Regions from separate parts of the Homo sapiens genome. Here region 1 is linked to region 2. The links are contacts of gene promoters, found by promoter capture Hi-C in blood cells and fetal thymus (Javierre and others, 2016). All regions are on one chromosome and are shown on one strand. Each heading gives the region's core, a stretch centred on a gene start or on the middle of the fragment in contact. The rest is flanking DNA. Distances are from core to core; before and after follow the strand shown.

Region 1 (4,113 bases), core at 674-3,173, 300 kb before region 2:
TGGCCAAGGGGCCTACAGAGAAACACTAAAAGCTGAGTTCCTAGCCGTGACTGAACGGGTGGTCGGGCACACCTCATTCTACCTCCTCCCTTGCTGACTGCCATGAAGCTTTCTTCCCTAAGGGTTAAACAGAAACCAGCCCTATTGAAAGACTCATTCACTGCTAATTTCAACCAATGGCCTGAAATACATGGCTGCTCCTCCCTTTTGTGGTTTCAACATAACAACTGACCAGCATTCCTTCCTGATCAGAGGCCACCTAACCACGGGGTGTGGCTCTGGCCAGTCTACAGAGGCTGCACACAAAGGGCCTTTGTGTCCTCTGCATCACCTTTTGATGTATAGGGCCTAATTGTAATACATTTAAGTGTTAAGTCTCCACTCCAAAGTGAACATGGGGCCTGGCACGGTGGCTCACGCCTGTAATCCCAGCACTTTGGGAGGCCAAGGTGGGCGGATCACCTGAGGTCAGGAGTTTGAGACCAGCCTGGCCAACATGGTGAAACCCTGTCTCTACTAAAAATAAAAAAATTAGCCAGGCATGGTGATGGGTGCCTGTAATCCCAGCTACTCATGAGGCTGAGGCAGGAGAATTGCTTGAACCCTGGGAAAGAGAGGTTGCAGTGAGCTGAGATCGCACCACTACACTACAGCCTGGGTGACAGAGTAAGACTCCATCTCAAAAAAAAAAAAAAAAAAAAAAAAAAGTGAATATGGGATGTTACTACACATGTGCTGTACCTTCCCTTCATGAATATTCATAGCTCCTCCTATAACCTGTTGAATATGTATACTGAGCCAAGCCATTCAGCGTTAACTCTGACCTTATCCTTCCCTTACTGGAGGTGCCTGCTCTCAGCTTCTACCGGAGGCTACACTTCTCGGCCTGTGAGATGGCCCGGCTGCAGGCTGCAACTCTTTATGAGAAATAAAGCTCTCCTTTCCAAATTTGTAAACCTGTATTAGTCTGTTCTCACGCTGCTGAAAAGAACTGCCCAAGACTGGGTAATTTATAAAGGAAAGAGGTTTAATTGACTCACAGTTCCGCAGGGTTGGGGAGGCCTCAGGGAACTTAAAATCATGGTGGAAAAGAAAGCAAAAACGTCCTTCCTCAGATGGCAGCAGGAAGGAGAAGTGCCAAGCAAAGAGGGAAAAGCCCCTTATAAAACCATCAGATCTCGTGAGAACTCACTATCTCAAGAACAGCAGCATGGGGGTAACCACCCCCATGATTCGATTACCTCCCACTAGGTCCCTCCCACAACACATGGGGATTTGGGGAACTACAATTCAAGATGAGATTTGGGTGGGGACAGCCAAACCATATCAAAACCTCATGATTCTTCAGTTGACATCTAATCTGAGCTACCATGGTCTATCAAAAAACCACAGCTCTTGAGGGGATCTCAATGGCTGTTAACAAACTGGTTAGAGTTCTGGTCAGGTTCTGATTGTAGAGAGCCTCTGTAACAGATATGGATTGCCTCCTTCCCCCCACCCTCCTTGTTATTTTTATTTCATTTTATTAAATTTTTTTTTGAGACAGGGTCACACTATGTCACCCAGACTGGAATGCAGTGGCACAATCTCAGCTCACTGCAACTTCTGGCTCCCAGGTTCAAGTGATTCTCATGCCTCAGCCTCCTGAGTAGCTAGGACTACAGGTGCATGCCACCATGCCCAGCAAATTTTTATATTTTTTGTAGAGACAGGGTTTTGCCATGCTGCCCAGACTGGTCTCAAACTCCTGAGCTCAACCAATCTGTCTGCCTTGGCCTCCCAAAGTGCTGGGATTATAGGCGTGAGCCACTGTTCCCAGCCATGATTTTTATTTAACAAATACTCATTATTTAACAAATACTTTCTGAGCACCTACTGTGTCCCAGGCATTGTCTTGGGAACGAGGAACACAACGGAGCAAGAGAAGTAAGGCCAACTTCTTCTCTGATGGAGCTTACATTCTAGTGGGAAAGAAAACTATAAACAAGTATACCCAAAAATAAACAAGATAATTACAGGGAATGGTAAATGCTATAGAGAAAAATAAAACAGAATAAGAAGCTAAAGTGGTGCCAGGACTGGTCCAGCAACTATTATGGTGTTGGGAGCAAGCCCCCCAAAATATGGCCATAAACTGACCCCAAGACTGGCCACAAACAAAATCTCCACAGCACTGTGACATGTTCATAATGGCCCTAACGCCCAAGCTGGAAGGTTGTGGGTTTACGGGAATGAGGGCAAGGAACACCTGGCCCGCCCAGAGTGGAAAACCACTTAAAGGCATTCTTAAGCCACAAACAATAGCATGAGCGATGTGTGTCTTAAGGACGTGTTCCTGCTGCAGTTAACTAGCCCAACCTATTCCTTTAATTCGGCCCATCCCTTCGTTTCCCATAAGGGATACTTTTAATTTAATATCTATAGAAACAATGCTAATGACTGGTTTGCTGTTACTAAATATGTGGGTAAATCTCTGTTCGGGGCTCTCAGCTCTGAAGGCTGTGAGACCCCTGATTTCCCACTTCACACCTCTATATTTCTGTGTGTGTGTGTTTAATTCCTCTAGCACCAGTGGGTTAGGGTCTCCCCAACCGAGCTGGTGTCTGCAATGGTGTGCCACCAGATAAGTACGGAAATTGCCAGCAAGTGTTTAGAAACACAGCAATTTGACATATCCATGACATCCAAGTATAGGATCAATGGATTTTCTTGTTGAACAGGGTAGAGACCAAAAGGATTGGTCCATGACAGGTTGGAAACATCAAACAAATGATCCTTCTCCATAGTTACAAGTAGTTTGAGATACACTGAGCTAGTGGGCAATGATGTCTACAAGGTATATTATTTAGAGTCATGCTAGCTGCTATAACAAATAAACCCCACCATTTCAGTAGCTCACAAAATAAAAGTTCTTTTTTTTTTTTTTTTTGAGACGGAGTTTCACTTTTGTTGCCCAGGCTGGAGTGCAATGGCACGATCTCAGCTCACAACAACCTCTGCCCCCTGGGTTCAAGCGATTCTCCTGCCCCAGCCTCCCAAGTAGCTGAGATTACAGGCATGCACCACCACACCCGGCTGATTTTTTTGTATTTTTAGTAGAGACGGGGTTTCTCCATGTTGGTCAGGCTAGTCTCAAACTCCTAACCTCAGGTGATCCACCTGCCTCAGCCTCCCAAAGTGCTGGGATTACAGGCATGAGCCATCACGCCCAGCCAGAAGCTCATTTCTTACTGTTCCTTTGAGCACATTCCAGCATCAGGGTCTTTCCACTTGCTGTTCCCACTTTGGGAACTCCATTTTCACAGTTTTCAAGTAGCTCTCACACTTTGGCTCTCACGTCTCAGCTCAAAGAACATCTTAGAAAGGCCTTCTGTGGCAGAGCCAGCAGGATGTTTATTGACTGCCTAGACCAGGACTACATTTCCCAGAGGCCCTTGCAGCTAGTTGAAGCCATAAGACAAGTTATGTTCAATGGACTGAGAGCAGAAGTGATGTATGTCACTTTAGGGTGAAGACTTTCAAGAAGCAGGTGCGAGTTCCTTATTCTCTCTTCTGCCTGGATTCAAAAGACTCTGAGCCCATAGAAGATGGTTGAATCACCTTATGGAAGAAGCCTGGATCCCTGAATTACTATGTGGATCAGGAGAAATGTCTGATGGGATGTTCTATGAGTAAGAAATGAGAAGACTCTTCTCAAACGTGGAAGGAGCTGCTGAAACCAAAATCACAAGTCCTAGAGAAGCTTCTTATTATCTCTCAGATGGTGGATGGGTTCCAAAAAGCATCCTGAAATTATCCAGAAAAACAGAAAAGAGATTTCAGATAAAGCAAAGGGAGAGAGATGCTGACAGAAGAAGACCAAGAGGCCACAGGGGCTCTGCTCCTTCAGGATCTAAGAAAGCAGGAAGGCACCAGTACCTCCCACCAAGGCCAACAGAACAGATACCATGAGAAAGGAACCAAGAAAAGGACAAATGGTGACATGTCTCCAAAACAAGGAGACATTGAGCATAAGAAGCAGAAAGTGAGGCCAGGTGCAGTGGCTCACACCTGTAATCCCAGCACTTTGGGAGGCTGAGGCAAGTGGATCACTTGAGGTCAGGAGTTTGAGAC
Region 2 (4,304 bases), core at 1,515-4,014:
AGCCAGGCATGGTGACTCATGCCTATAATCCCAGCACTTTGGGAGACCGAGGTAACAGGATCTCTTGAGCCCAGGAGTTTGAGACCAGCCTGGGCAACATAGTGAGAACCTATCTCTACTTTAAAAAAAAAAAAAAAATTAAGGCCGGGCGCGGTGGCTCACACCTCTAATCCCAGCACTTTGGGAGGGAAAGGTGGGCGGATCACGAGGTCAGGAGATTGAGACCAGCCTGGCCAACATAGTGAAACCCCATCTCTACTAAAAATACAAAAATTAGCCGGGTGTGGTGGCATGCACCTGTAGTTCCAGCTACTCGGGAGGCTCAGGCAAGAGAATCGCTTGAACCTGGGAGGTGGAGGTTGCAGTGAGCTGAGACCACACCATTGCACTCCAGCCTGGGTGACAGAATGAGACTCCATCTCAAAAAAAAAAAAAAATTAAAGTAGAGAAAGAAAAAAGAGCTTCAAGAATACTCAACCAGCATGGTTGCTTGAGCCTGTAATCCCAAGATTTTCGGAGGCTGAGGCGGGAGGATCACTTGAGACTGGGAGTTTGAGACCAGCTGGGGCAACATAGTGAGACCCCTGTCTTTTTTTTTTTTTTGAGATGGAGTCTCACTCTGTCGCCCAGGCTCACTGCAACCTCCGCCCCCTGGGTTCAAGCGATTCTCTTGCCTCAGCCTCCTGAGAAGCTGGAATTACAGGCGCATGACACCATGCCCAGCTAATTTTTGTATTTTTAGTAGAGATGGGGTTTCACCATCCTGGCCTGGCTGGTCTTGAACTCCTGACCTCGTGATCCACCCACCTTGGCCTCCCAAAGTGCTGGGATTACAGGTGTGTGCCACCATGCCTGGCCAAAAAAAAATTTTTTTTAATTATAAAGAACATTTACACTGCTCTCAGATTATATGCACAATTTTGTATTTTTTGTGTAGATTTTTCTGGGAGTCTAGATTTTCTTAGTTTCTCAAAGGGATGAAGGGTCCTCAAACCCAAAAAAGAGATTCTAGGACTCCTCTCTTTAGAGTTACCAAGGTAGGGCTGAATGACATTCTCTGCCCTACTGAGAGCGTCTCCCAGAAATCAGTCGTCCTAGGGCTGGGTTTCTTCCAGAAAATTCCTGGCCTGACTTCTGGCAAGGCCTGTGTTTACACTTACAAAGGCAAAGCCACCCTTTTTTTTTTCTTTTTAACTCTTCACGCTTTTTTTTTTTTGACAGAGTTTTCCTCTTGTTGCCCAGGCTGGAGTGCAATTGCGTGATCTTGGCTCACTGCAACCTCCGCCTCCTGGGTCAAAGGATTCTCCTGCCTCAGCCTCCCAAGTAGCTGGGATTACAGGCATGCGTTACCACGCCCAGCTAATTTTGTATTTTTAGTAGAGACAGGGTTTCACCATGTTGGTCTCGAACTCCTGACCTCAAGTGATCCACCCGCCTCTGTCTCCCAAAGTGCTGGGATTACAGGTTTGAGTCACCGTGCCCAGCCCCTCTTCACACATTTTAAGCTGACCATAAGCTTGTGGTTGATCATTCGGCCCAGTTTTGGACAGATGTCCCATGTGCCTTCAAGGTTTGGGGGTGCTTTAGGCAGAGTGGCTTTGAGGTCCCTCTGATGGCATGAAGGAGTATCTGGGGCAGATATCCCTGGCAGGAGTGAAATGTGAGGAGGACAGTCTGGTTTTCTCACCTGATAAGGCGACTCGGTCTCAGTGATACGCTGTTTCCGGGTCGCTGCTGGAGGTGAGGGGTGTTGTGGGGTGCAGAGACAGGCAGAGTGGTGAGTTGAGGGTGTTTTGTCATTCCAAATCAGCACCTCCATTACCATCCCTTTGGATGTTTGAGATCTGGGAGTTTACCCAGCCCCCCACCCCCATCTAGGCAAGTCCTCAGGATGTCCCCTGCTAGCCCCACTCACCCTCCGCAGCCCCTCGCCCCCGAGGGACCAGCCGGCCCAGGAAGTACACGGCCAGGGCAATGAGCACTGTCAGCACCAGGTCTCCCATCACGATCCCTGCCAGCACGCCCGGGCTCACCGTAGAGCAACTGCAATCTGCAGCACAGGGGTCAGGGGAGGTCAGTGTGTGCTGGGAACTGTGGGGAGGGGGGTCAGCGGCAGGGAGGTTTGGAAAGGGTGTGGGAGAGACGGAGACAGGGAGGTCTCTGGGAGGTAGAGAGAGGGACTGCTGGGTCTAGGCCTACCGCTCTGGGCCTGGGCCTGGACAGGACGGAGACCTGAGGAGGAAAAAGAAGGTAAACTGAGGCACAGAGTTATGACGGGGGTGGGGGAGGCAAGTTTAGAAGCCAGGGAAGGTGGATCCTGACAGCCAAGAGGTTAGCAAGGGGGAGAGCGTGTCTGGCGGGACTCAGGGGGCTGGCGTCTGGGCCACCGGACTATGTGCGTTACTTCTGCACAACTTGTCCTGTGGCAACACACTTAGATGTCTCTTCTCCCCTGCTTGTAGCGGACGACAAAACTTGGGGGCTTGGGCTCTGGGAGAAACCCACAGGCTTTGGGAGGTTGGGGACCTGCTCCCATCCCAACACCCACTTTTGGTTCTCTCGTTCCACCCCACTCCCTGCCCTGCCCCAAGCTGAGCCCAGGGACCCGGGAGGCAGCCACGGAAGCCCCTAACTCACCACTTACAGCCAGCAGGAGAGGCAGGAGCAGGAGCCTGCTGCAGGGTTCAAGTCCCCCCATGAAGCCGGATGCTGCTGGACACCACAGTGTAAGGGCCGGTGGGATGTGGCGCAGCGTCCAGGCAAGTGAAGGAGGAAGTCTGAGGCGGGTGGTGGCAGAAGGGAGGAGGAGACAGGGGAGGAGAGACAGAAACAAAACCCAAGAAAGAATCAGGCCCAGACACCCAGGGGCCATGCCACAGGCCCCCAGCAACTAGACGTGAAGGGCAAAGGGTACGTGAAGCACAAACTTCACCTCCGTCCCCAGTCAGGGGTCAGACATCGTTTTAACAGGAGGGTCAGTGTCATGACCTTCCTCTGGCTGATTGAAACCAGCTCTGCCTCTTCCTGGCTGGTCAACCTTGAGTGCAATGGCACGGTCTCGGCTCACTGCAACCTCTGCCTCCCGGGTTCAAGTGATTCTCCTGCCTCAGCCTCCCAAGTAGCTGGGATTATAGGCGCCTGCCACCATGCCCGGCTAATTTTTTGTATTTTTTTTTCTTTTTTTTTTAGTAGAGACAGGGTTTCACCATGTTGGCCAGCTGGTCTCAAACTCCTGACCTCAGGTGATCCACCCACCTTGGCCTCCCGAAGTGCTAGGATTGCAAGTGTGAGCCACCGCACCCAGCTCCAACCTCAGTTTCTTCATCTGTAAAATTGGGAGTAAAATGGGACCTACTTTTTAGAGTTGTGGGGATTAAATGAATTAAAGTTCCTAGACCAGGGTCTGACCCTTGTCAGCTTTTTAAAAGCATCAGCTATGATGATGATTATTTAATCATCAGAAACTTGTGCTGTTTAAAGGATATTAAAAGAGCCAGCAGCATGTGGGCACTAATGACATGCAGGCACTCTGTCCCAAGCGTTAAATCATTCAGTCCCCGCAATGCCCTTCTAGGGCACATGCTCTTATCATCCCCATTGTTCAGAGAGGTAGAGACGCTTGCCTAAGGCTGCACAGCAAATCAAGGTGGAAATGGAACCCAAGACCCAAAATCAGGTTTTTGACTAGGGAAGAGTCAGGGGGAAAAACAAAGATGAAAGATGGGGAAGGAGAAAACAGCGGCAAAGCTGAGAAAGGTGAGAGTAAGGCAGTGGCACAGACACAGAGGCACGGCTGGCGGCTTGGGGAGAGGCAGGTGGCTGGCTCTCCTGCTGAATGAGGAAGTGGCTGGGAGCAAGGCCCAAGGGAGGCCACCCCAAGGAGACGGGGACTTCTAGCCCCCAGCTGGAGCCTGGGGCTGGGGAAGGAGGAACCTGAGGTTAGGGTGCTGGAGGATGAGACAGCTGCAGGAAGCCCCCCTCCCCCATCCACACGTCACACCCACCGCTCCTTGGGCCTGGGCTTAGGAGAAAAAAGGGGAAACTGGATTCTGGTCACAGGGCAGATGCCCAGTGGCCTGTGGGGGAAGGGAGGAGAGGAGATTTGGAGCCTGGAGGAGGGTCAGGTCCCAGCTCAGCCCACGGTCACCACTGTTCAGGCCTGGCTGAGTCCCCTCCCTTAAAAACCCAAGCCTCTCCCATTGTGTCTAGAGCGAGCATGGAGGGAACAGACCCTGTAGGTCCTCCCGGGCACACCAGGCCACCCAATGTGTTGGAGCAGAGTGGGCGAGGGGGCAGTCAGAGAC

Evidence for each region. Contacts are between HindIII fragments. The CHiCAGO score rates a contact against its expected background, and 5 or more counts as called.
Region 1: a contact is called between a fragment that was not itself captured here and the fragment with the promoter of TYROBP in region 2, in 2 of 17 cell types (neutrophils and fetal thymus). The highest score is 6.0, in neutrophils.

The regions. Positions count from the first base shown.
Region 1 is chr19:35,605,018-35,609,130 of GRCh38, forward strand. It overlaps HAUS5-DT (HAUS5 divergent transcript), which reads right to left. Exons shown (of 2, transcript NR_186318.1): 2 at 3,372-3,786. Among named protein-coding and RNA genes, the nearest start is that of HAUS5-DT, 5.6 kb to the right of the region's middle. The HindIII fragment of the contact is 3,634 bases long and covers 107-3,740 here.
Region 2 is chr19:35,905,531-35,909,834 of GRCh38, forward strand. It overlaps TYROBP (transmembrane immune signaling adaptor TYROBP), which reads right to left and starts at 2,765. Exons shown (of 5, transcript NM_003332.4): 1 at 2,638-2,765; 2 at 2,200-2,232; 3 at 1,916-2,050; 4 at 1,688-1,734. The coding sequence starts at 2,698. RefSeq lists a silencer at 1,777-1,930 and enhancers at 3,742-3,871, 4,022-4,071, 4,172-4,281. The HindIII fragment of the contact is 5,164 bases long and covers 1,515-4,304 here.